3 separate regions of the Homo sapiens genome follow, and regions 1 and 3 are each linked to region 2. The links are contacts of gene promoters, found by promoter capture Hi-C in blood cells and fetal thymus (Javierre and others, 2016). All regions are on one chromosome and are shown on one strand. The core of a region is centred on a gene start or on the middle of the fragment in contact, and the rest is flanking DNA. Distances in the headings are between cores, read along the strand shown. Region 1 overlaps LINC02069 (long intergenic non-protein coding RNA 2069). Region 2 holds the start of LINC02054 (long intergenic non-protein coding RNA 2054). Region 3 has its middle 9.9 kb from the start of LINC02069.

Region 1 (2,700 bases), core at 114-2,613, 360 kb after region 2:
CCCCCAACATCTCCCCTAACCACTCCAGAGCAGCCTCCAGTCGCCACCACCACCACCACCCTCAAGCCAGAAGTCATTTTTTTTTTTTTTTGAGACGGAGTCTCACTCTGTTGCCCAGGCTGGATTGCAATGGCGCGATCTTGGCTCACTGCAACCTCTGCCTCTCGGGTTCAAGGAATTCTCCTGCTTCAGCTTGCCGAGTAGCTGGGATCATAGGTGCCTGCCACCACGCCTGGCTAATTTTTTGTATTTTTAGTAGAGACAGGGTTTCACCATGTTGGCCAGGCTGGTCTCGAACCCCTGACCTCAGGTGATCTACCTGCCTTGGCCTCCCAAAGTTCTGGAATTACAGGTGTGAGCCACCGCGCCTGACCCAGAAATCATCTTAAAACATTCCCTCAACAACCCTTTACCTTGATACAACACCTCATAGTCACCAAAGCATTCTTACATCCTCAGCCCATGGGTTCCTCCTCCCCACATCAGCCCTGGAAGGCAGGCAGCTCAGAGATTATTAAACCATTTTACAGATGAGGAAAATGAGACAAGCTTAGTGATGTTTGCAAGCCACATGGTTGGTGAGTCACGTTGGCTGCACTGTTAGATTTCAAGGCAGTGAGACCAGAAGGTAGCCTCGTATGGGGAGGGGTGGGATCTGGGTTGAGGCAGCCAAGGATTTGCATGAATTGGATGAGAGATCCCAGCTCCTCTGTGTCCAGAAAGTTTCACCTTGAGTCACCTGCCTTTCCCTCCCCGGGACACCGCACCTTCCCAACAGAGCAGTGTTGAGTCAGCTCCCCTTTTTCTGCCTCTCCGAGGTACTCTCAGCCATGCCCTCCTTCTGGCTTTCGTAGGATCTGACTCAAGATCCACTTTAGGCAGGCAGTATCTGTGGAACCTTCTCGTGTAGGGCCCACCTGTAAACAAGAGGAGGTGTTTGGAAATTATTCATGAAAGAAGAACACCATGAACAGCATTTGACCTCTTCAGAGAAAAGAGATATGCAAGTTTATAGCGGTAGTGGCGATAGTAATATCCAATGACATAACAACTTCAACAATTACACTTGCATTTCTTCCAAAGAGCTTTAAGCATTTTCGAGTTTATTGGGCTATTTGATCTCATAAAAGTCCCACAAATGGGTAGTGCTGGTTATTATTATCATTTTATAGATGAGAAAACTGAGGCCCGGAAATATGTCAGTGATTGCCCAAGACCTCGCAGCGAGGGAGGAGGGAGGTAGGGCTGAGTCTGTTTCTTCACGTCTCCAGGTGTTTCGTGTGTGGGACTCCCTCTTGGTGTCTGAATTCCTGTGAAGTAAGGTGTGGACAGAGGAGGTGGCTGGTGGCAGGCTCAGAGGATTTTTCTGCACATGGTCACTGAGAGACAGTGAGTCAGGCACCCTTATTTTGAGTTCGGTTTCCTCTTTCACTTCCCCAAACAATTTCTGGAGATGGAGTTCACTTGGCACCCGTTCTCAGATGATGAGCTGGGGGTATGTGCACAGCTGCCCCTGAAGGTTTTCGTGGTAGTGGTGATCTGGAAGGGGTGGATGCTCACATTCTTATCCTGAGACTCCTCCTGTTCTCCTGGTCTACCAATCCCCTCTCCAGGAGGGGGGTCCTTGCTAGCTCTGTCTGTTACCACGGCCTCCTCACTGTTTTTCTGACCTCAGTATCTTTCCTTTTTTTTTTTTTTTTTTTTTTTTTTTGAGATGGAGTCTTGCTCTGTCTCCCAGGATGGAGTGCAGCACCGTGATCTCGGCTCACTAGAACTTCTGCCTCCTGGGTTCAAGCGATTCTCCTAGCTCAGCCTCCCGAATAGCTGGGACTACAGGTGTGTGCCACCACTCTCAGTTACCTTTTCTATTTTTAGTAGAGACAAGGTTTTGTCATGTTGGCCAGGCTGGTCTCGAACTCCTCACCTCATATGATCCACCCACCTTGGCCTCCCAAAGTGCTGGGATTACAGGCATGAGGCACCGCGTCTGGCCTGACCTCAGTATCTTTTTCATTCAATCATCTCCATGACTGACCTTCCAAAAGCTCTCCCTCCACCTCTCAGAAATTGTCAGTAGAATCTCATTACTTCTGGCCTCAGCTTGGCACTCAAGGCCCCACCCAGTCAAGTCACAAACTACCTTCCCACCCTTGGCTCCTCCCTCTCATCCTCCTCTTGAAGCTTTATCTTCAGTTAGACTGGAGGATTTGCCTAGACATGCTTTGTGTTTTCCCAACTCCACAGTTCCCTTGGCTTGGAAAGCCACTCCCACCCCTCTGCCTGCTGGATTTCTATGCAGCCTTCAAAGCCCATGACAAATGTCACCTCTCTCATGAAGCCCTCCTTGATTCCATCATTGGAAAATGAGCTTCTCCCTCCTGGGATGTCTCACAGCACCTGGCATACAGGTCTCCACACAAGCAGTTCTCTGTGTGTTGTGGCAGTGGTGTCAAGATTTGGATGTTTGTGAAACTACAAAGACTGCAGGATTCGGCAATACCACTTGTGGGCATGTGTGTGCGTGTGTGTGTCTGTACGTGTGTGTGTGTGTGCGTGTGTGTGTGTTGGTATGAGGAGTGAGCACAGCTACATAAACAATTGTATGTCAGAAAGGGATGAGACACTTACTAGGTTTAGAGTGTGTCAATCACTTCAGTTCTGCCAATGAACAGAGAGCCAGATGTCTCTCTCCAAGGATAG
Region 2 (2,700 bases), core at 37-2,536:
GTGTGTTTTGTTGAGTTTGCCTTGTGTTTATAGTTTTATATCTCTTTTCCTTGCTTGGCTCTATTACCGCACATATAAGTTTTGCCATAGATTGTCAGAATTTTAAGAGAAACGATGCTAGGCCAGGCATAGTGGCTCAATCCTATAATCCCAGCACTTTGGGAGGCTGAGGTGGGTGGATCACTTGAGGTCAGGAGTTCGAGACCAGCCTGGCCAACATGGCGAGACCCTGTCTCTACTGAAAATACAAAAATTAGTGGGGCGTGGTGGCAGGTGCCTGTAATCCCAGCTACTTGGGAGGTTGAGGCAGGAGAATAGCTTGAAACCGGGAGGTGGAGGTTGCAGTAAGCTGAGATTGCACCACTGCACTCTGGGGTGACAGGGCAAGACTCCTTCTCAAAAAAAAAAAAAAAAAGAAAGAAAGAAAAAGAAAAAAGAAAAGAGAAACGATGCCAGGTGGCTGTTCTCTTTGCACATCTGGATGAAGACCCAGAGGCTGGGGTGACACTAAAACTCCACAGCCTGAGCCCCATCCAGCTGATGGCAAAGCAGATACTTCACAACTGCGCCTTGGTGAGAAGTGAGTTTGGACACCCCAAATGAACTGCAGTTGGGAGCAGCTCCCAGCTCCAGCTCCAGCTCCCTGTTCATTTTCCAAGAGGTGGCAACAGCCAGAAGGAGTCTGAGATGTGACTCCCAGGGAGGAGGGGTCGCTCCTGAGGATCAGTCCAAAGTTGCTACAAGGCTGGACGCCCTCTCTCCATATAGCTGTGGTTACCTTAACAGTTTGCAATGTGTGTATTCATTTTGGTTGCCAAGAAGACTCAGCTGAGTAGATGTGGGCTCTGTAGACATTGTGAGAAGAAGGGAGGCAGGGAAGTGTGCTTTGCTAGTGACTTGGTTCTTGACCACCATCACCTCAGTTTTGTGACGACTTCCCGGAAATACGGCCAGCCTTGAACTGGCAGCAGTTTAGTAGAGTGGTATGAACCGAGAATGACACTTGTTAGCTGTGTGACTTTGGCAAGGCATTTGCCATGCCTGAGCCTCAGTTTGCTGCAACATGGTCTTAATGATGGTTACCTGCATGATTGTCACAAGGACCATAGAAAACGTATGTACATGCTTGGCGTATAGTTGGCACTGAATGCCGTCACTGTAATTGAATCTGACAATGGGTGTGAGAACCATTAGGGAGGGGTGAAATGCTCCCCATGCCCATGAAAAGGTGGAGGGGACTCAGTGCTCCGGCTTCTATTATGTGATGCGACAATAACTATTACTGTGGGCATGACCACAGCCTTTCTACCTTTGGCAGCCTGTCAAAGGGAATCTTCTGGAGCCAGCCTCTTCCCTCCTTTCCCACCCGAGAGAGGAAACATTCTTGCTGGGAATGAGGCTGTCAATCTACCTGATTAAGAGTGAGAGAAGAGAGGTGGGGTACAGCGGTGAGGGCTGTAGGGCTGGAGGGGGTGGGTAGGTGTGGAGGAGAAGTCTTCAGAGGCATGTGTGGGTGAGGGGGAGTGGAATGAGAGCAAAGAGATTCTAACATTCTGGGCTGTGTTTATAGGTCTTCTTTAATATTTTTCAAGATATGAATTAAGTGAAATTTCTCTTTCTTGGTAAAATATATATAACATAAAATTTACATTTTAAGGCTGGGTGTGGTGGCTCACGCCTGTTATCCCAGCACTTTGGGAGGCCGAGGTGGGTGGATCATGAGGTCAGGAGTTCAAGACTAGCATGGCCAAGATGGTGAAACTCCGTCTCTACTAAAAATACAAAAATTAGCTGGGTGTGGTGGTGGGTGCCTGTAATCCCAGCTACTTGGGAGGCTGAGGCAGAGAATTGCTTGAACCCGGGAGGCGGAGGTTGCAGTGAGCCGAGATCCAAACAGAAACTCTGTACCCATTAAATAATAACTTCTCACCCTACCTCCTCCAGCCCCTGGTAACCTCTATAACCTTGATTCTACTTTCTGTCTCTACACATTTGCTTATTCTCTATCCTAGACATCTTATATAAGTAGAATCATACAATATTTGTCATTTGTGTTGAGTTTATTTCGCTTAGCATAATATTTTCGAGGTTCATTCATGTAGTAATATGCATCAGAATCTCATTCCTTTTTAAGGCTAAATAATATTCCATTATATGTACAGTCATTCCTTAGTATCCATGAGGGATTGGTTCCAGGATCCCCGAAGATGTCAAAATCCAAGGATGTTCAAGTCTCTGATATAAAATGGCACAGTATTTGCATATAACCTACACCTATCCTCCATATACTTTAAATCCTCTCTACTTATAGTACCTAATACATTGTAAAACTATGTAAATTATTATGCTGTATCATTATTTATTTATTGTTATATTGTTACTTTTTCATTTTATTTTGTCTTCAATACATATACTTATTTTTATTTATTTATTTTTTTTTTTGAGATGGAGTCTCACTCTGTCGCCAAGGCTAGAGTGCAACGGCACAATCTCAGCTCACTGCAGCCTCTGCCTCCCAGGTTCAAGCTATTCTCCCGTCCCAGCCTCCTGAGTAGCTGGGATTACAGGCATGTGCCACCATGCCTGGATAATTTTTATAGTTTTAGTAGAGACAGGGTTTCACTATGTTGGCCAGGCTGGTCTTGTACTCCTGACTTCAAGTCATCTGCCCGCTGTGGCCTCCCAAGGTGCTGGGATTAC
Region 3 (2,700 bases), core at 67-2,566, 380 kb after region 2:
GTGAGGAGACGCAAGAGGCGGCATTCATTCCTTCATTCATTGCTACCTTGTTGTTAGAGATTTAAGGCAAGAGACACAACTGGAAAATGGACAAAGGAAAAATGATTTTGAGGATCTAGAGGATAAGATAAGGTCTGAGATTGTCTCAAGTGGGAATAAAGGAAGTAGAAGGGAGGGTGGCCCTGTAAAGTCAGGCGACCTCTACCTCAAGGTGAGGAGGAGAATGCAGCGGAGGAGGCCCTAGAGGACCTGGTACAGGATCAGTTGGAGAAGTGGGAGGGGCAGAGGGCTGCACATTCCTAATGAGCTTGCCCGCTAATCCCAGAGGGTTGCTGCACTGGGAAAGCACAGGCGGAGACCTCCTAAGATGTCTGGAATATCAAATAACATGGCAGAATGTGAGGCAAATAAATGAGTCAAAAACTTGGACTCTTATAACTCTGCAAATAATTCTTTTTTTTTTTTTTTGAGATGGAGTCTTGCTCTGTCACCCAGGCTGGAGTGCAGTGGCATGATCTCAGTTCACGGCAACCTCTGTCTCCTGGGTTCAAGCATTTCTCCTGCCTCAGCATCCCAAGTAGCTGGGAGTACAGATGCAAGCCACCAGGCCCAGCTAATTTTTATATTTTTAGTAGAGACAGGGTTTCACCATGTTGGCCAGGCTGGTCTCGAACTCCTGACCTCAAGCGATCCACTCGCCTTGGCCTCCCAAAGTGTTGGGATTACAGGTGTGAGCCACCGCGCCTGGCCTCTCTGCAAATAATTCTGACACCTGGGAGTTGCACTTTGTATATCATGCTTTTATATGCAAAGGACTTGTTTCAGCATGTCTGTTCCACTTCCTTGAATAGTGCAAGGGCAGTGGCAGTGCCAAGGAGTGGCTTGGAGAGGTATGTTTTATGCCCCTCATCTTCATGAATCACCCCCGCCTCCCCCCCTCAAAAAAACAACTAAAAATCATGTTTTTGACATGGGCGGGGGATGTCTTCTTACTCTTATGGAAAATGTGAGTACAAGCCCCTTTAGAAAAATTACTGTAAAGCATCAGATGAAGGCCGAGTGTGGTGGCTCACGCCTGTAATCCCAGCACTTTGAGAGGCCAAGGCAGGTGGATCACCTGAGTTCAGGAGTTCGACACCAGCCTGGCCAAGACAGTGAAACCCCGTCTCTACTAAAAATACAAAAGTTAGCTGTGCATGGTGGCAGGCGCCTGTAATTCCAGCTACTCTAGAGGCTGAGGCACGAGAATCGCTTGAACCCAGGAAGCAGAGGTTGCAGTGAGCCAAGATGGCACCACTGCACTCCAGCCTGGGTGACAGAGCAAGACTCCATCTCAAAAAATAAAAATAAGATAAATCAGTTGAATTCTACCACAGCTTTGAGACAAGTCCCTGGCCCTGCTTCCAACCAGATTGCTGTTTCTAAGTTTCTCCCAGGCAGACACCCTAGAGTCCCAGCTCCAAAGGTACTCCGCAACGAACAGAGTGGCCAGGAGGTGCTGGAGGAAGGGAAAGCCCTGTGTGGTCAGGAGTTCACGGGCAGTGGGGATTTTCAGCTGAGCTGGACACAGGGAGGGCAGAGGCAGACTTCCCTCGGAGAGGAGGGCAGAGACAAAGCCTAAGGCAATGGGAGCAAGTCTGGCTGTTCAGGGAGGCCCGGGGTTGGTCTGCTCAAAGGGAGGGTGTCTGGAAAGGAGGAGTAGGAGGTGAGGATGGAGAGATGGTGGTGCCGGATCAAAGGAGGCGTAAGTGCTGGGCGAAGGAAGCAGATCTGTGTCCCTGAGCAGGACCCAGCAGGAGGCTTCCATGCCAAAGAAAGTTTGGGTGAAAATAGGATTTTAGGAACATTAGTCATATATAGAATAAACTGGAGGATGGGGGAGGACCAGTCAGGAAGGTCAGTTAGGAGGTTTTGGCTGTGAGTCCCGCATGAGATGTAAGGACCTAGCCTAGCCGTGTATGGCATAGAAATAAAAGAACAGGCCCGGTATGGTGGCTCACTCCTGTAATCCCAGCACACTGGGAGGCCAAGGCAGATGGATCACCTGAGGTCAGGAGTTTGAGACCAGCCTGGCCAACATGGTGAAACACTGTCTCTACTAAAAATACAAAAATTAGCCAGGTGTGATGGCGTGCGCCTATAGTCCCAGCTACTCGGGAGGCTGAGGCAGGAGACTCACTTGAACCTGGGAGGCGGAGGTTGTGGTGAGCCGAGATAGCACCACTGCACTCCAGCCTGGGGGACAGAACAAGACTCCATCTCAAAAAAAAAAAAAGAAAAAGAAAAGAAAGAAAAGAATAAATAAGGCCGGGCACAGTGCCTCATGCCTATAATCCTAGCACTTTGGGAGGCCGAGGTGGGCAGATCACAAGGTCAGGAGTTTGAGACCAGCCTGACAAACATGGTGAAACCCTGTCCCTACTAAAAAAAAAAAATACAAAAAATTAGCTGGACATAGTGGTGGGCGCCTGTAATCCCAGCTACTTGGGAGTCTGAGGCAGGAGAATCTCTTGAACCTGGGAGGTGGAGGTTGCAGTGAGCCGAGATCGTGCCACTGCACTCCAGCCTGGGCGACAGAGTGAGACTCCTTCTCAAAAAATAAATAGCCGGGCGCGGTGGCTGACGCCTGTTAATCCCAGCACTTTGGGAGGCCAAGGAGGGCGGATCATGAGGTCAAGAGATCGAGACCATCCTGGCCAA

What was found. The method cuts DNA at HindIII sites, captures the fragments that hold promoters and counts their contacts. A CHiCAGO score of 5 or more calls a contact.
Region 1: a contact is called between a fragment that was not itself captured here and the fragment with the promoter of LINC02054 in region 2, in 1 of 17 cell types (M2 macrophages). The highest score is 5.3, in M2 macrophages.
Region 3: a contact is called between a fragment that was not itself captured here and the fragment with the promoter of LINC02054 in region 2, in 10 of 17 cell types (non-activated CD4 T cells, M0 macrophages, naive CD4 T cells and 7 more). The highest score is 8.8, in non-activated CD4 T cells.

Annotation. Positions count from the first base shown.
Region 1 is chr3:184,764,553-184,767,252 of GRCh38, forward strand. It overlaps LINC02069 (long intergenic non-protein coding RNA 2069), which reads right to left. Exons shown (of 3, transcript NR_110043.1): 2 at 768-917. Among named protein-coding and RNA genes, the nearest start is that of LINC02069, 7.3 kb to the right of the region's middle. The HindIII fragment of the contact is 1,632 bases long and covers 548-2,179 here.
Region 2 is chr3:184,400,251-184,402,950 of GRCh38, forward strand. It overlaps LINC02054 (long intergenic non-protein coding RNA 2054), which reads left to right and starts at 1,287. Exons shown (of 4, transcript NR_161199.1): 1 at 1,287-1,435. The HindIII fragment of the contact is 17,052 bases long and covers 1-2,700 here.
Region 3 is chr3:184,781,688-184,784,387 of GRCh38, forward strand. No RefSeq gene overlaps it. Among named protein-coding and RNA genes, the nearest start is that of LINC02069, 9.9 kb to the left of the region's middle. The HindIII fragment of the contact is 4,924 bases long and covers 1-2,700 here.